2 separate regions of the Homo sapiens genome follow, and region 1 is linked to region 2. The links are contacts of gene promoters, found by promoter capture Hi-C in human tissues and cell types (Jung and others, 2019). All regions are on one chromosome and are shown on one strand. Each heading gives the region's core, a stretch centred on a gene start or on the middle of the fragment in contact. The rest is flanking DNA. Distances are from core to core; before and after follow the strand shown.

The links. The method cuts DNA at HindIII sites, captures the fragments that hold promoters and counts their contacts. A contact is called where the count stands out against the background at its distance.
Region 1: a fragment that was not itself captured here is called in contact with the fragment with the promoter of CCDC73 in region 2 in 1 of the 25 tissues and cell types used here (adrenal gland).

The regions. Positions count from the first base shown.
Region 1 is chr11:32,756,529-32,759,760 of GRCh38, reverse strand. All of the region lies in intron 2 of CCDC73 (coiled-coil domain containing 73), which reads left to right. It also overlaps the pseudogene RPL34P2 and the pseudogene LOC124902803. Among named protein-coding and RNA genes, the nearest start is that of CCDC73, 37 kb to the left of the region's middle. The HindIII fragment of the contact is 3,317 bases long and covers 217-3,232 here.
Region 2 is chr11:32,792,856-32,796,107 of GRCh38, reverse strand. It overlaps CCDC73 (coiled-coil domain containing 73), which reads left to right and starts at 1,446. Exons shown (of 18, transcript NM_001008391.4): 1 at 1,446-1,495. RefSeq lists silencers at 2,951-3,070, 3,081-3,130. The HindIII fragment of the contact is 8,709 bases long and covers 611-3,252 here.

The sequences.
Region 1 (3,232 bases), core at 626-3,125, 37 kb after region 2:
ATTATATAGATGCCTATGAAATGATTAAATAATGAAACAAGGCAGTATATGATTAAGTGACAAAATAAATGTATGTAGTAAATATTCTGGGTTGAAAGAATCAAATATCTTTATTTTAAAAAGTGATAACTGTGATTTTTTCTTAAAGGATATGTCTAGTATAAAATTGTAAAAGATGAGGCAGGTGGATCACTTGAGGCCAGGAGTTCGAGACCAGCCTGGCCAACATGGTGAAACCCTGTCTCTACTAAAAATACAAAAAATTGGCTGGATATGGTGGCGCATGCTTGTAGTCCCAGCTGCTCAGGAGGCTGAGGCATAAGAATTGCTTGAACCCAGGAGGTGGAGGTTGCAGTGAGCCAAGATCACGCCACTGCACTACAGCCTGGGTGACGGAGCAAGACTCTATCTCAAGAAAAAAAAAAAAAAAAAAGGAAAAAATGTTGGTTTCAGCAGGCTATCTATATTGTGCAAATCCCATTAAAAAGCATTTTATTTCTGAGACTTGTATGGGTCTAAATTTTAACTCTATATAGGATAGATTGGAGCTTGGAAGATTCTCGAGAGAAAAAAAACCATAAAACTATTGCAATAAGGATATAGAAATGAGTTCACTAGGACATATATATGACCATGAAGATAGAACAGAAGAGGCAGAAAGAAGAATCAATAGAATTTACTGACTTTCTGAAAATAAGCTATAAATGAGAGAAAAAGATCTGAAACAACATTTTTATTATATAATAATACAAATATTGTTCTAGGATTTTAAAATATTGAAATTTATTGTTACAATAACAAAATTTAAATACCACAGTGTTCATCCTATTTAAAGCTACTTATTATTGTAATAAAAGTCTGTTTTAAGATGAAATTCTGCTAAAAATGGTATTTTGGGTAAGTATTATAAAGAAGTGTTTTTGTAAAATTAGCTTAAAATGTTATCTTTCCTAAGTGAAACAACTTTTGGTCACTATTTAAAACTTAGTATTCTGTTTTATTATGTTTTAAATTTTATACTTTGGTCTGTTTATATTTCCAACTTAAAAAATATGCTTCCTTTAAAAATTTTCTGAAAAATTTCAGATTAGAAAAGGAATAGCGTTTTTTTTTTCTTTTATTACCCAAGAAAGCTTCATTTTAAAATTTAGCTTTCAAACTCTGTGCTTGTGCCTTCAACACTTTCACAAGGATTTTCTGCTCCTTGATGAAGAAAGCATGTTTGATCCTGTCATGGACACAATTAGCATACATGGAACCACCATAGGCTCTGCTGACACATTTTTTCAAGATAACCTCATAAGAACTTTAGGTCTCACAGCACAAACTCCTTGAAATCTACTTGGAGGCATGCCACGTGGAGATTTTGGTGCTTTCCTAACCTTCTTGGTATAAAGGTAAACAATTCTATTACCAGGGGTTTGGGACAGCCTAGTTTTGTTAGAGGCTGTATTGTAGGAAAGCCCATGATGATACGTCAAATGCTGGACCATTTTGAGTGCATCTAGATGCCATCCCTGGATGAAGAGGAAAATGTTTTTAATAATCAAATGTAAAAGTATATAATACTAGCAATCAAATTCCTCATTGAAAAGAGAGCTTTCTTCTTAAAAAGGGGAAAAAATCCCTTACTTTCATTAGAAAAAGACTGTTACTGTTTTTCCCATTTACCCTGATGGCGGTACTTGACCTGTATTCCTAGATTTCCCCCTCAACATTTTAGTAGGAAAATTTCAAACATACGTAATACTTGAAAGAACTTTACAGTGAACACCCATATACCCATTGTGGTAGACAGAATATGGCACCCAAGCATGTCCATGTCCTAATTTCAAGAACCTGTGAATATGTTACCTTATATGGCAAAAGGAATTTTGTAGGTGTGATTAAATTAAGCATTTTGAGATGGAGGGATTATGCTGGATTATTCGAATGGGCCCAGAGTACTCATAAGCATTCATATAAGAGGGAGACAGGAGAATCAGAGTCTGAGAAAGAGATGTGATAGTGGAACTAAAGGTTATAGTCGAAGAGAAAGCGACTGGAAGATGTTATGCTGCTAGCTTTGAAGATGGAGGAAGATGCTATGAACAAAGGAGCATATGTAAGTGGAAGCTGGAAGAAGCAAGGAAATGGATTCTCCCCCAGAGACTGTAGAAGGTATGCCGCCCTGCAGATACCTTGGACTTCTGACCTCCAGAACTGCAACAGAATAAATTTGAGTTGTTTTAAGCCACTAAGTTTGTTGTTATTTGTTACAGTAGTAATAGTAACCTAATGTACCTACTAATCAGATTCTATGCTTGATCTCATAGTATATCTATCTGTCATTGGTCTTATTTTTGGGATTCATTTCCAAATAAGTTGGAAATTATATGCTTCAGTATGTATATTATTAACTGGATTTTAATAATATTTGTTTATTTTTTCTTTCAATATAAAATTTATGTAGAATAAAATTCTTCACCCCTTTTCATCCAGAGGCAGCCCCTGTTCTAATTTTTTTCACTAAAGATAAGCTTATCTCTGTTCTAGATTTTTATATAAAGGGAATCATTCAGTATTTTTTTTGTGCAAGTTTTTTTTAACTCAGTGTAGTATTTTTGAGATTTATTCTTGTTGTGTGTGTTTGTAGTCAGTTCGTTTTTATCATTGAATAGTATCTATAATATAAATGTACCATAGTTTGTTGTTTTCATTAACATAGTTATGGATACCTAAGGGATTTTCAGTTGTTGTTTTTTATGAATACAGTTGCTATTCATATTGCTGTGCATATTCTTGTACCAGACATTTTGCAGGCATGTGTGATAAGCAAGAACAGATCTTATTCAGGAACTACTTATGAGATACTGATTTTGTCTCATGCCCTCCCAAATCTTTATTGCAAATTTTTAATACTTCTCATTAATAGTTTCTGAAGAGATCTTTTTATTTAGCATTTAAAACAGAGTGCAAAAAGATTGATACAATTAAAAATGAATAATTATATTTAGTTTTTGAAGATAAAAAAGTGGAATTAAAACACTGAACCACAGTTACTGTTAAGCCTGGATGGGACTGATTCTTAGGTCCTTGTATCGTTCGGAAGATATAAAGATACTGACCAACTACAGATATTCTTCAGTTAAGTAGGAATATTAAAATTTTAAGGGTAATGACTAAATAAATAGAAATAGGCTTTACATCTTCCCAAATGGTAGACAGAAAATATACAATTGTAATAAATTAT
Region 2 (3,252 bases), core at 197-2,696:
TAGGAATGCTTTCCCTAAAAAGGTGACATCTGGGCAAACGCTTGGAGAAAGGGAAGGAGTAAAAAGAATTCCAGACAGATTTTTACTGGAAAACGTGGTTAAAAATTTGAGGGCGGGGGGCCGGCTGCGGTGGCTCATGCCTGTAATCCCAGTACTTTGGGAGGCCAAGGCGGGCAGATCACCTGAGGTCAGGAGTTCAAGACCAGCCTGGCCAACATGGTGAAACCCCGTCTCTACTAAAAATACAAAAATTAGCCAGGTGTGGTGGCAGGCGCCTGTAATCCCAGCTACTCGGGAGGCTGAGGCAGGAGAATCGCTTGAACCCGGGAGGCGGAGGTTGCAGTGAGCTGAGATCGTGCCATTGCACTCCAGCCTGGGGGACAAGAATGAGACTTTTTCTCAAAAAAAAAAAAAAAATTTGAGGGCAGGAACCACTTCTTTTACATTTTGGTAGCATGCAAAAACAATGTAGGCCTGAAACATATTACATTCTTATTGAATGACTATTCAACATAACATACTGAAACATAGCATTAGTTAGGTGCTTAAAATAGGTGTGATTATCAGTATAATTAGAACTGCAGTTTTTTTTCTATTTCACTTTAAAAATTAAGCAACTTTTCTTTTCTTTTTTTTTTTGACAGGGTTTTGCTCCATTGCCTAGGCTGGAGTGCAGTGGTGCAGTCTTGGGTCACTGCAGCCTTGACCTCCCAGGCTCAATCTATCCTCTTGCCTCAGCCTCCCAAGTAGCTGGGATTACAGCCGCACGCCACCATGCCCGGCTGATTTTTGTATTTTTGGGTAGAGACGGGGGTCTCACCATGTTGCCTAGGCTGGTATCGAACTCCTGACCTGAAGCAATCCTCCCACCTCAGCCTCCCAAATTGTTGGGGTTACAGGCATGAGCCAGTGAACCCTCACACCCGGCTAACATTTATTTTTTGAATTAGTAACACATTCACATGAAGCAAACATCAAAAAGTATAAAAAGCTATTCAGTGAAGTCTCCCTCTCTCTCCCGTTCCCATCCACACACTTCCCATTGCTCCCCACAGGTAATACTTACTCATTTTTCTTTCATCTTTCCAAAGACTTTTTTTTTAAAAAACGAATATATCGGGAGGCTGAGGCAGGAGAATGGCATAAACCTGGGAGGTGGAGCTTGCAGTGAGCCGAGATCGCGCCACTCCACTCCAGCCTGGGCGACAGAGCGAGACTCCGTCTCAAAAAAAAAACCAAAAACAAACCGAAAACAAACAAAAACAAAAAAGAATATATAAGCCAATACATGTTGTACTTAAGGAAAAACATCAAATATCCAGGTATCTTTTCCGAAGCTTGTATTTAAAAAGAAAATAAAATCAATCATATTTTGCCCCAGATGCTCAAGATTACCCACGTATCTTAGGCTAATGACCTTCAAGCCGGAAGTGCCCTAGGGCGGGAAAAGGTGAACCGGAAGGGCCAACAGGAGCTAGAGGCGCGCTTCGCTGAGGTAAGTCGGAGCAGTCACAAGCGTGTAGTTGGGCTGTTTAGGAAGCAGCCCTAATCTTTTCATGCAGGGTCCACTTACGGGTTTGCCCTGCACCTCCAGCTGCGTAACCTACCCTTCCTTGCTCTGGTTGCCAAGGGGCTGCTTTGGCCTGGAGCCTCCTGACTGCTGGGCTGTGTCTAGAATCTTCCACGCTCCCGACCCAGGAGAAGCAGCCACACTGAGGCATCCATCTGGATCTCTGCTTGGGCAGGATTGAGACTGCGGGTGAGTCATGAGGGTCTCGTCTGTTCATCGTGGAGAAGCGCCTTCTGTACATGTGCCTTGCGTGGTGGTGGTTTTTGTTTTAAACCTCATATTTGCCTTATGAATGCAATGCAATCATGTCGATTGTTCTTCTGAAAATTTTCAAACAACTCTGACCGCTCAGAGTTAGCAACATTTGGAACTGTTATTGGTGAATCTCGACTTTTTCTTTGGTGAACGTTACTTTTTGCAGAATGTTTTAAGTATAGTGCGAAAGTTCTAGCGCAGTTGCAGAAGTGTGTAAATTCCCAGGGACATTTCTCTATTTTTTCTTCATTCTGCTGGTGATTTTGTTTCTCCCAAACTGCCTTGCACGAGCAAATTTAAATGGAATCTCACTGGGAATGAAATGACTGCCCTGCTAATCCTGATAATGCTGAATTCTAGATATAAATTATTTGGTCGGGGCGGTGGCTCACATCTGTAGTCCCAGCACTTTGGGAGGCCGAGGCGGGCGGATCACCTGAGGTCAGGAGTTTGAGACCAGCCTGGTCAACATGGTGAAACCCCGTCTCTACTAAAAATACAAAAATTAGCCGGGCGTGGTGGCGGGCACCTGTAGTCCCAGCTACTCAGGAGGCTGAGGCAGGAGAATTGCTTGAACCCGGGAGGCGGAGGTTGCAGTGAGCCTAGATCACTCCACTGCACTCCAGCCTGGGCAACAGAGCGAGACTCTGTCTAAAAAAATAAAATAAAATAAAATAAATTATTCATGTCATTGCTGCAATCTTCCACTTCACTTTGCTGCTGAAAATAAGTGACAACCCTTAAGTCATTTATGGGAACCTTTATGATCAGTGCACTTCTTTTAGAAAGAAAATGTGAAGATTCCACGGAGTCTTCTGCTTATATTGAGATCCTCGAATTGATGATTATTGGTTATTTTGCTTTAGTTGTGATAAATTCCTATGGCTCTCTTTGTTTTATACCTTGAAGAAAAAATCTATACTGAAATATCCCAACCTGAGAATCAGCAAATACGCTGTGGATGGAGTTTCCTCTGTAGTCCTTCACTGGTGTCTTCTCTCAGCCATTTCTTCGGCCAATTTGAGTCTTTACAACTCTCCCTGGTTTCAGGGTTGCCTTGGGGGTAGTTGTTAAGTTTTGGAAAATTAGATTCCCCACTTTGATGATTTATAAAGTGTGTTAATGCAGCTTGAGAAAACGTTTTAATTTCCATACGGCTTCATATCGTAGTGTCAGGAAGGAAGCGAATGACAGATTTTTAAATTCCGAGTGTCCACCAGGCGGCAGCATAGGGTTTTTAGTTTCTTTCGCTCTGGCCGTGTATCCCGTAATAACTGTACAGGTGCGGTGATAGTGTTATTCTAATAGTAATAGATATCATATGTGGAATGCTTATTACACGCCAGGGGCTGGAAGTTATCTCATTTAATCCTAAAAAAACAAACCCCAAACCCTGTACCGTAGGTATTCCCAGTATTCTCCTTACA